Regions from separate parts of the Homo sapiens genome. Here regions 2 and 3 are each linked to region 1. Evidence: promoter capture Hi-C in 16 types of primary human blood cells and fetal thymus (Javierre and others, 2016). All regions are on one chromosome and are shown on one strand. Each heading gives the region's core, a stretch centred on a gene start or on the middle of the fragment in contact. The rest is flanking DNA. Distances are from core to core; before and after follow the strand shown. Region 1 holds the start of CCT4 (chaperonin containing TCP1 subunit 4). Region 2 has its middle 6.3 kb from the start of EHBP1. Region 3 holds the start of LOC105374764 (a long non-coding RNA gene).

What was found. Contacts are between HindIII fragments. The CHiCAGO score rates a contact against its expected background, and 5 or more counts as called.
Region 2: a contact is called between a fragment that was not itself captured here and the fragment with the promoter of CCT4 in region 1, in 1 of 17 cell types (monocytes). The highest score is 7.0, in monocytes.
Region 3: a fragment that was not itself captured here is called in contact with the fragment with the promoter of CCT4 in region 1 in 17 of 17 cell types (naive CD8 T cells, activated CD4 T cells, total CD8 T cells and 14 more); the score reaches 18.7 in naive CD8 T cells.

What each region holds. Positions count from the first base shown.
Region 1 is chr2:61,886,833-61,890,623 of GRCh38, forward strand. It overlaps CCT4 (chaperonin containing TCP1 subunit 4), which reads right to left and starts at 1,824. Exons shown (of 14, transcript NM_006430.4): 1 at 1,549-1,824. The coding sequence starts at 1,675. It also overlaps a transcript of COMMD1 not described here. RefSeq lists enhancers at 852-1,413, 1,414-1,973, 1,515-1,594, 2,534-3,093. The HindIII fragment of the contact is 8,675 bases long and covers 271-3,791 here.
Region 2 is chr2:62,697,482-62,701,272 of GRCh38, forward strand. It overlaps a transcript of EHBP1 not described here. Among named protein-coding and RNA genes, the nearest start is that of EHBP1, 6.3 kb to the right of the region's middle. The HindIII fragment of the contact is 861 bases long and covers 1,421-2,281 here.
Region 3 is chr2:62,411,769-62,415,559 of GRCh38, forward strand. It overlaps LOC105374764 (a long non-coding RNA gene), which reads left to right and starts at 3,425. Exons shown (of 6, transcript XR_002959390.2): 1 at 3,425-3,661. RefSeq lists enhancers at 237-426, 3,587-3,656. The HindIII fragment of the contact is 171 bases long and covers 2,128-2,298 here.

The DNA of each region.
Region 1 (3,791 bases), core at 574-3,073:
CACGGCAACCTCCGCCTCCCAGGTTCAAGCTATTCCCCTGCCTCAGCCTCCCGAGTAGCTGGGACTACAGGCCTACGCCAACACACCCACCTAATTTTGTATTTTTAGTAGAGACGGGGTTTCTCCATGTTGGTCAGGCTGGTCTTGAACTCCTGACCTCATGTGATCCGCCAGCCTCAGCCTCCCAAATTGCTGGGATTACAGACGTGAGCCACCCTGCCCGACCCAAAATTTATCTTTCAACATTCTGTTCCTAATCTAATAAATGTAAGCTTCAACTATGGTCCCTAGACAATTATCCTACAAACCTTCGTTTCCAGGTGTATTATCTCCTAAACTTACAAATGACTCCTAAATCTGGCCATTCTGACCTTTCCAACTCATTAGGACAAGTTAGAAACTATTACTTTTTCTTACATCCAGCGTTACCTATCTTAGCGCCATCACATTCCCAGTTACTTGGGCTGATGACTGCAAACACATGTAAGGTGTACTTTATATACGTGGGTCTTTATATGCTTTCTCACTGAATCCTCACAGCAAGCCTACACGATGGCTAAAAAGAAATGATCCCATAGCTGGGGGAGATTAAGCCAAATACTTTCCAGGACACCAGGCCTTTAACATCTGCCCCAACCTAGCTTTCTAATCTCACCTCTTCTGTAAACATACTACTATTCTCCAACCCAAAAGAACTACTATACTCAATATACACTCGGGCAAGATCTCTAAACCTCTGTCCTGACTTTTCCTTCCAGATTTTTCTATTTCAACTCGATTTCTCTTAATCTTAACTCTAAAAAGCAAACATTTTCCTCCAATTTTATAAGTGAATCTTTGGCACAGAGGTTACAGGTCACTAAGACATGAAGTAACGGAAGCAGAGAATGAAACTCTGGTCTTCCTGATTTCCAACGTGTGCCACACACTTCCACAAAAAAAACAAATAATTGTTTCTTGATTTGCCTATGTTTCACTGCACATGCGGAGACGACATCAACGTAACTTTTCCGCAACTATTTCAAACACGACACGTAAGTCGGTTCCCACATCCATCCCAGTACAATGGGCCCCGCCCCAATTTAGACTCGGAGAGTTCACCCAATTCGTCTCAACAGTTGTGCCAAGTGAAGTTTATTTAATAGTTCTTTAAATAAGAATAACAAAGCTGAAAGATACTGTGCATTCTACCAGTTCCAATAAGCAATAAGCGACAGCCCTCAAGCGTCAGATCCCTAGTGAAGACTGCATGCAATCCTCGGCATTTTGAACTGCTTTCGGCTCCAATATGAATGATGCACAGTGCAGGATGAAAAACTAAGGGAGATTAAGATGCAAAATGGGGCAAGTCCAAAGGCCTCCATACTCCGGGTTGGCGATCATCGGCAGAAAAACAGAAATAAGGATCCCTCCACTGGGCTGCTTCTATAGGGAGGACAAGAGAGGATCACCCGAAGAAATGGGAAATGAGCCAAACCCGCTCAAGCCCACGATGAGAGCGCAGAGCACAACCCCGCGGCGCCGCGGGTCAGGCCATGAGAGTGATACCTTTGGCGGCGGAAATGTTGCTGAAGCGGATCTGGGCTGGCTTGTCGCGGTCCTGATAGGCGCCTTTCCCGCGGCCGCCGGCAGCCCCGGCAGTCGCCCCGCTCCGGGGTGCCACATTCTCGGGCATGGCAAACTCCGCTGTGTCTGGGTTGGCTCGGGAAGGACGGATGGACCCGGATTCTGGCCGGCCGCAGTGTAATAACGGTAAGCCCTCACTGCCTTCACGAACCTTCCAGAAAGCGGCGCCGGCGTCGGGAGGAGGCGGAGGCGGAGAAGGGGGCCTTCCTTGCCGCGCGGCGCTGGCGTGACGTAGGAGGCTGTCCGCTGCGCGCCGGGCGAGGAGGATGCGTGCGGTGGGCTCCGGGCTGGCGAGATTGTACGCCCGGGGCGCTGTGGGTGAAGAGCGCCGGGGGAACCTTTACGCGAGGCAGCAATGACAACGCGCGATTTTAAAGGCGAGTGGTGAGGACATCCGCATTTCCTCACTCCACCTTGCACGGCTATGAGGTCCCCTCCTTTTTTTTTTTTTTTTTTTCTTTTTTTGGATACAGTCTCACTCTGTTGCCCAGGCTGGAGTGCAGTGGCGCAAAATCTCGGCTCACTGCAGCCTCCGCCTCCCAGGTTCAAGCGATCCTCCTCAGCCTCCCGAGTAGCTGGGATTACAGGCGTCCGCCACCATGCCCAGCTAATTTTTGTATTTTTAGTAGAGACAGGGTTTCACCATGTTGGCCAGGCCGGTCTCGAACTCCCGACCTCAGGTGATCCACCCGCCTCGGGCTCCCAAAGTGTTGGGATTACAGGCGTCAGCCACGAAGCCCGGCCTTTTTTTTTTTTTTTTTTTTTTTTGACAGAGTCTCGCTCTGTCGTCCAGGCGGGAGTGCAGTGGGGCGATCTTGGCTCACTGCAGCCTCGACCTCCGGGGCCCAAGCGATCCTCCCGCCACAGCCTCCCAACTAGCCAGGACGACAGGTGCCCGCCACCATGCCTAGCGAATTTTTGTATTCGAAACATAGCGAGACTGGGTTTCGCTGTGTTGCCCAGGCTGGTCTGACCTCCCCGGCTCAAAGCGGTCCACCCTCCTCAGCGTTTCAAAGTACTGGGATTACAGGCGTGAGCCACCGCGCCCACCCGGAGGTGCCCTCCTTTAACTCCGGCTGGATCTATCCGCGAGGTGGGGTGGGCGCCGGAATAACTCTCTAAGGGATATGACTGAGTCTGTTTTTGCCCGGCCACATAGACCTGCATTTTATGCAGTTTTGTTCATTTTGAAAGGGAGTCAGAAAAGGGAGATTTGGAATGAGGCGAGGTTAGTTATCTCGTATTGGTTGATACTGGGTGGTGGAGGTTTGACAGACTGCCAAATCAGGTCTGTCTAGTTACCACCGCCCGCTTGTTCTACACTAGTGTCTCCTGCATGACGTAGCCACTGACTCTTAGGGAACGTAAACATTATAATAAAGATCATTTATTTCCGTTATCTGCTAAGCACAGTGCTAAACCTTTACACGTTTTATATCTCGTTTAGTCCTCACAATAATCCTTTACTTAAAAGGTGAGAGAACTGGAGCCCAAAGAAGGAACTGAAGCCCAGGGTAAACGAGTCAGTAGATAGAAGCAGTATTCCAATACAAAGCAAGGACCAGAAGCCATGAGCTAAACTGCTGGTCTCCTATGACCACTATATTTCAGTAGGGAAGTTTATGAAATGAGGTTTGTTGAATGTTCGCTCACAATTATTAAGCACCTGCAAAGTGACAGTTGCGTGTGGTAGGTTCAGAAACAAATGTTCAAAGGTACTTAATCTTGTAATTATGAGGTGGTGGTGGTGTTGTTTGTTTGTTTGTTTTTGTTTGTTTTTGAGACGGAGTTTCACTCTTGTTGCCCAGGCTGGAGCAGTGGCACCATCTCGGCTCACCGCAACCTCCGCCTCCCGGGTTCAAGCGATTCTCCTGCCTCAGCCTCCCCAGTAGCTGGGATTACGGGCATGCACCACCATGCCCGGCTAATTTTGTATTTTTAGTAGAGACGGGGTTTCTCCATGTTGGACAGGGTGGTTTCGAACTCCCGAGCTCAGGTGATAGGCCCGCCTCGGCTTCCCAAAGTGCTAGGATTGCAGGCTTGGCGAGAGCCACCTCGCCAAGTTGTTCTTTAACACACATTTAGCATATTAGCACTAGGGGCCTGGCTCAGTAGCTCACGCCTGTAATCCCAGCACTTTGGGAGGCCGAGGTGGGTGGATCGCT
Region 2 (3,791 bases), core at 601-3,100, 810 kb after region 1:
TTTTATAACACTTTTCTCAGGTTTTTTGTCATTGTTAAACAAAGCACGGTCACCTCTCATCAACTGAAATTTTCTAAGGGAAATACTAAACAATGACTTCTAATAGAAGAGAAATATGAGCTCCAGGAGGACAGGGATTTTGTCTTTTTTATGTGCTGCATTCCCAATACCTACCAGAATGCTTTGACCTTAATAATTATTCACTGAATATTTCTTAATAAATTAACAGATTTTTCACTAAAAATATCATCAAAGAAAATCAAAATGAAAAAGCTATCATTCAAAGTTGTACTCTTGAACCTGTTGCCTTAGAACTTGCAAAGTCAACTGAAAGTTAATAAGATATTATTAAGGGAAATTAATAAGAGAAAACAGAATGAACTATTGGCAAAACTGATCCAGTAACATTCTTGGGCATACATCCATAGCATACAATGTTGAAGACCAGGTCCCATTATACACGCTGTGCAGCAATTTCATGTTACAGCTCTATATGTGTTAGAGAGAAGTACTCAACAAGTTGGTCTTTTTATCACTGACAAGTCACTGCAGGATTTTGGTAATTGTTATCTTGTTCAGCTGTAGGCTGGACAAGACACATGGCAAACAAACTGATTGGCACAAGGTAGTTTTGTGAATAGCTAGAAAGAGTGTTATTACAAGAATAAGAGAAGTTGAACAGTTAACAATATGCCTCCTATTCTTGCTTTAATTGTTCAAGAAAAGAGTGAATATTTCAAATATAATCAAGTTGTGACCTTTAAATATGCTCTTTTTAGCATGTGTTATGTGAAGAAACATGCACAAGTATAACACTCTCCTTTTCCACACTGAAGTATGCTGGTTAGCAGGTGCTCACACATTTTTGAAATGAGAAATGGGACACTGATAATGCAAGACAGTTGTTTCAAGGGGCTCTCTCAATATAGGTAACTCAGTACTATGTTCAATATCTAAAACAGACTCAACTTATTTCAGGGATAAAATATTGTGATTTTTAAAATTTTAAAGATAGCAGGATTTCTTCGGAAGATTGAACTATGGCACAAAAACCTGACTTGCTCAACACTTGAATTTCTTTTCTTGGAGAAAGAGATCAATGATGCATTATTGGGAATATTTTAAAATAGCATCCAAAAGTTGTGACAGAATATGAAGAAATATCCAGCGGCTCTCACAAAGTCATCTTTGCTTCCCAGGCTACGTTCTGATCACTGTAAGCCCAGTCACTAATTGGGTGACTTGCTGTGAAAAGAGAGGCCTGGAACAATATTGCAGCTCTCTCTGGCTCTCATGTTATTGCCCTTGCCCTGGAATTTTTCTCTATCTTGCCCTGCCCAGAAGATTGCCCAAACTGTGCATGAGTTAATCCTGCCCTTTGAAAGCTGGGTTTATTTTCCAGCTCTACTCATCTGGGACAAGCTTCAGCAACAGGGCTACTTTCCCTTGGCTCATGCCCAGTGCCCTGGTAAGTGGAGTTTTGCCTGCTTTCAGCTTGCTTTGAAATTTTGCTTTTTGTGTGTGTGTTCTTTGTACTGTATGGGATGGAAGTGCTTTGGTTTTACACCACAAGGGTTGTAGTCAATGCCCTCCAAGATTATGAATTTCTACCAGCTTTTCTTTGCCTTTCCTGTCTAGCCTTATTATTTCAGAATGATATTAATTATATTATCTTGCTCATACAAATATAATCATCTATGAATTATTCAGAGGAAAACACTGGCTGGATGCTGTATCTGGTTACCTGGATTTTTTTTCCAGTTTTTGAAAACACAGAAGAAGTGAAGCAAAGGTCAGTCTACCCCTTATAATTTGCCAAAGGCTCTTAACATTTCATGGGAAATGACCAGTAAGTCTTGGTCAAGAATCCCTGCTGATTTTATAGGAGATGAATTTATTGAATTTAGCAATGACTTTCTCAGCTGAGGTCTTAATTCCAACTCAAATCTTTGCTGCTATAATCCCAGTAATGGCCCACTTATTTGCAATATGTAAATTATCTCAGCTAGCTGCTTTTACCTTGACATACACATTTGTGGACTGGGACTTCACCATTATGAAAGTATCTTAAGTAGTTAGAAGGCTTAGATTGAGAGGATGCTATAGACCAGCAAGGGCACTCTAGAGTTAGGGCTGGTATTTAGTTAGTCCACAAAGGGACAACTAGGCCAACGTTTACAGTTGTCATCCATTCTAACTGATCAATGCCTATGCCATGTTGTTAACACACTGAATGTCCACACTTTGAATATCATTGTTGCCTGCAATATAAAGATTTCTAAGCTTCTAGTCATTCACTGTGTTGCTCCAGATTAACAACAGAAGTTAGTCCTGCCGAATCACCAGTGGATAGAATCTGTAGATTTGCTTCAGTCTCTACCTGAGTTTCAAGGAAGTCAAGAATGCTCCTCTGCCTCTAGCAACCAAGCCCATGTTGGTCTTTTCTAGATGCTGTGGAGCTGGACAAAATTGTATTTTTAGTATACAACTGAGGTCCTAGAATTAGTGCAATCTTAGGTTCAATGTGCAAAGCTTCATTATGACTAACTTCAAATATTCGTTCATGGGTAACTGCAACAGAAACAATTTCACCAAAGAATACTGTTCCTAATTGAAAGATGGTTTTCTAATGCAGCTTTTCTAAGCTTTTATGTCAACCAAAGAACTTGGGTCCTATAATGATAGAGTAAAAAAAAAAGGCCACCTTTTAAGAGAATAAACATAGGTTTTAAATTATTTTATTAAGAGTTATTATTTAAGGTTATATAACAGGCATAAATCTCAATCTAAAGAAATTCAGGTTGGCAAGAAACACAGTTTTATTTTCCCATTACTCAACCTAATTTCTATTTCAAGCTTTGATTTCACAAGGGGTGGCAAACACTTAATCATAGTCAATTTGGCAGGAACTGCATCTCAATTGAGGGGGCTTACATAGCATCACTATGTTGGGGGAAGGGGATGGGGCATTTAATCCTTGCTTCTCATCTACTATGCTGGCTCCTCTTAGAGTTCTAATATTCATCTTCATTAGCAGCCAGCTCCATGGATTGTTGCTGGGTTGATTTTGGATCATCAGCAAGGACTCTTTTGGTCTGGTGGCTGTGCAGTGCCTCTGTACCCCTCTGGGTGTCTGGAAATTGTGTTGGGCATCCAGAACCTCCACAGTACTATGTAAGTTTGCACTGTCCATTATGGTAGCTACCAGCCACATGTAGCCAATAAATAAATTAAAATTAAATAATATTAAAACTCAACTTCTTCAGTGACACTAGCCACATTTTGCATGTCCAGTAGTTCCAAGTGGCTCATGGCTACTCCATTGGACAGCCATGTAGATATTCATCATAGAAAGTTCTACTGGACTGTGCCACTCCAAAATCTTGGCTGGCCTAGATAACAACCCAGTTTTTTCTTCTCTTAAGGGTCTTGCCACCTCCCCAGGACTCTAATAAGGAGAAAAATATTTCTATTAGCTCTCAGATACCATAGATAGATCCTATCATTTCAGCTGCCCTTCTCCCAAGTTTGTGCCAGAATAGGGTGGGATTAGGTCCTGCTCTCAGAAATCCACTAGCATCCAGCTCTCATTACATCCCCTCCAAGTTCTGTCTTTCCCTTCCAGCCCAGGAAACTCATTTCTCATCTTTGGGAAAGGAAGCTTTACTATTGTCTGTAACAGCACTGTCCAATAGGAATATAATGTGAGGCATATATATAATTTACATTTTTCCAGTAGCTGCATTAAAAAAGAGTAAAGGAACAGGTAAAATTAATTTTACTGTCTTTAA
Region 3 (3,791 bases), core at 963-3,462, 530 kb after region 1:
CATTCTGTGCGTGTTTACAGTTTCTCAAGTGGAAAGCAAGGACCCCTGGAACCAGATCTGAGGGCAGGTGCTTCCCAGATAAGCATGTTATGGGGTGGGGAGGATGGAGTAAGGGAGGGAGAAGCAAGATTGTCCCTGGAGGCTTCCCAAGCCACGGGCCAGGTCCAGAACAGCAAGGCTGTGGGTTCTGGCCAGAGAGAAGAGGAAGCTGGTGAAGCCAGGCCTTCCGGCCGTGCTCAGTGAGCAAACCATTGTGCCTAGTGTGGCCAAATATCCATCTCGGGGATCTCTCTCTGAGCACCAATGGCTTCTCCTATACTATTGCTCAAGTCCACCATAAAAGCAGTGTTTAAAAACGAAGGGAGAGGAAGACAAAAGAGAGGAAAGCGGAGAGAGAAACGGGAGGAGACGGAGAGAAGCAAGGAATCCCAAACTAGACTGCTAGATTCTGCTAGATTCGGCTTTTCAGAGTAAAGACTCTGAGCAATAGTGCCATCTTGTGGCTATGAGTAGGAATTACAATTAGTTTTCTCTCTCTCTCTCTCTCTCTCTCTCTCTCTCTCTCTCTCTCTCTCTCTCTCTCAATCTCTCTCCCCCCCTCCCTCCCTCCCTCTCTCTCTCTCTCTCTCTCTCTTTCTCTCCCCCTCCCTCCCTCCCTCTCTCTCTCTCTCTCTCTCTCTCTCTGTCGTCTACTCATGGTGTTTGCAACTGCAGGGGCACAAGCCATGGATTTTGTTTCCACCCGAGACAATTGCCTCTCCCCCGACACCTACACCCCAAACTACTCCAGACTCTGCACCCTCTTCTACACACCTCTGGGGTGAGTCCACATTTGCCCAGTAGAAATACCTGCTATCTGATGTTTGACTCAACTCTAAGACTCATTCAACAAATATTTATTGTGCTTTTATTATGTGCCAGGCACTGTCCTAAGATCTGCGGACCTGACTATAAATAAAAATGTCTCCTTTCATGCACTTTACATTTTAACTAGGGAGGCAAATATTAAACACATACATGTAAAATATAATGGGATGTAGTAACAAGTGCAATAAAGGAAAATAAGGCAGGGGATTCAGGGCTATTTCAGATAGGGTAATTGATGAGCTACAACTTTTTTTTTTTTTTTCAGAGATAAGGTCTTGGTGTGTTGCCCAGGCTGGTCTTGAACCCCTAGCCTTAAGCAGTCCTCCTGCCTCAGCCTTCCAAAGTGCTGGGATTACAGGTGTGAGCCACTGTGCCTGGTGCAGTCGCAACTTTTATCAGCACAGATATCTGCTAATATCTGTGCAAAGGCATAGATGAGGTGAGGGAGTAGGGCAGGTGAGTATCTGAGGGAAAAAGGACCTACAAACACAAAGACCAAAGCCGTCTGTCTGGATCTTCCCTGAGATGTGACTCCAGAGTAGCAGCCAAAGAATATGACACTCAGGAAGTCATCTAGGGTTCGAGGTGCTAAAGCCAACTTTTTTCTTTTTCCTTTTTTGAGACAAGGTCTTTCTCTGTTACCCAGGCTGGAATGCAGTGGCGCAAACACGGCTCACTGCAGCCTTGATCTCATGGACTCAATTGATCCTCCCACCTCAGCCTCCCTAGTAGCTGGGACTACAGGTGGGTGACCCCATGCCCGACTAATTTTTGTATTTTTTGTAGAGATGATTTTGCCATGTTGCCCAGCCTGGTCTTGAACTCCTGGACTCAAGTGATTCACCCGCCTTGGCCTCCCAAAGTGCTGGGATTGCAGGTGTGAGCCACCATACCCAGCCTAGAGCCAACATTTCTCTTTTTTTCTATGCTTAGCATCCAAAGCTATCTTTATCAAAATCCACCTGCTAAAGCCCCCGCTAGGACAGCATGTGGGGAGGCTCTAGGCCATTCTGGATTCAGGACCTTCTGGCTCCATTCTGAATACAAAAGCTGACTTTTGACGTGAGAAATCTGACACACTCTTCACTCTCTGAGCCCAGGATTTTCTTTGCCAAAGAGCTGGGCTTCTTTCTGTAGCCAGTGGTGATCCCACAAGCTTGCCTTTGCTTATATCAAAGACTCCAGATCTCCAGTTGAATGTCTCCACCAAGACATCAGAGTTGAAATTAAAAAGAGCATTTCTTTCAGAGAATAAGCCCAAGCTTTGGAGATCTGGTTTGTACCCAGTCCCTGTTCCAGGCCAGCCTGCTCTGTCCCTTGCTCATTTAATTTTCTAGGTTAACAAACAGAGCAAAGTTTCCAGGTGTGCTTGCAGAATATCACCTGGAACATTATTTGGAGGAGAGAGGCAGGGTGCTGAGCTTTTTCTGAAGCTTTTTCTGAAGGCTTATATTCTGTAGGTCAGGGAGCCAGTTACTTACAAGTAAAACTGTCCCCAACAAGATTGCTCTATCAGGGCCCATTTGGGGTTGGCTTTTCTAGCATATGAGTCTAGCATATGAATCAGGCCAGGTGTGGTGGCTCACACCGGTAATCCTAGTGCTTAGGGAGGCTAAAGGGAGCCGGTTGCTTGAGACCAGGGGTTTGAGATCAGCCTGGTCAACATAGTGAGACTCCATTGCTACAAAAAATTAAAAAATTACCCAGGCATGGTGGCACGTGCCTGTAGTCCTAGCTAATTGGGAGGCTGAGGCAGGAGGATTGCTTGAGCCCAGTAGTTCGAGGTTGCAGTGAGCCGTGATTGTGCCACTGTACTCCAGCCTGGGTGACAGAATGAGACCCTGTCTCTAAAAAAAATATAAAAATTAAAAAAAAAGTATGAATCAAGTATAGCCTGAGTGGACTCTGGGTGGACAAGGGGACTGGTTTCATCTGGTTACTTGACTCAGAAAGTCAAAAATAGGCTGGGCATGGTGGCTCACGCCTGTAATCCCAGCACTTTGGGAAGTCAGGGTGGATGGATCACTTGAGGTCAGGAGTTCAAGGCCAGCCTGGCCAACATGGTGAAACCCCATCTCTACTAGAAATACAAAAATTAGCTGGGTGTGGTGGCACGCCCCTGTAATCCCAGCTACTCAGGAGGCTGATGTGGGAGAATTGCTTGAACCTGGGAGGCAGAGGTTGCAGTGAGCCTAGATCGTGCCATTGCACTACAGCTTGGGTGACAGATTGAGACCCTGTCTCAAAAAAAAAAAAAAAAAAAAAGTCAAAGATACCTGAGGTCTTTTCTTCAGTGTCTGCATTCTCAATGTTCATTTCATACCCGAGAAGCAAAGCCAGGCAAGGCAGCCTGGTAAATGGGCCCGGATCTTTTCCCAGAGAGCACTTTGTAACCTTGATAACAAGACTCAAATGACCTCCACCAAAATCAAAAACAAAACTAACAAAAGCCCATTTGAATGTTAGAAAACATCTTCACAATGAATCTAGTCTTTCTGTTTTTGTGGTTTCGGCAGCTGCTTTATTTGGGTGTGTTCTTGACAGTCATGGTTTCAGAGGGTTCTTCTATCCAAGAGGAAGTCAGTCCTCTGAAGACCAAGTTTGCGTACTGGACAATTTGAGCTGACAGCAGCTGCCAACTCATGCTCGGCTCTTCACGGTGGACTGTCTCTTGTGCAGGTCAGCTTGTCCTGGCAGATGCTATCCATGGCAGTGCTTCCCTGCCTGGGCCTGGGGAGAGGCCCTCCTGGGAGATTCCTCTTCTGGCTGAGCCTGTACCTGGGCCTGTGTGCAGGTAAGGAAGGCAGGTCATTGCTGCCTTGAAACTAATCCAGTGGATGTACCTGGATCAGAAGACAAAATGAACTCACCAAATGTCAAATCATTGTTAACCAGGGCAAAGACTTACTTGTCCTCTCCCTGCC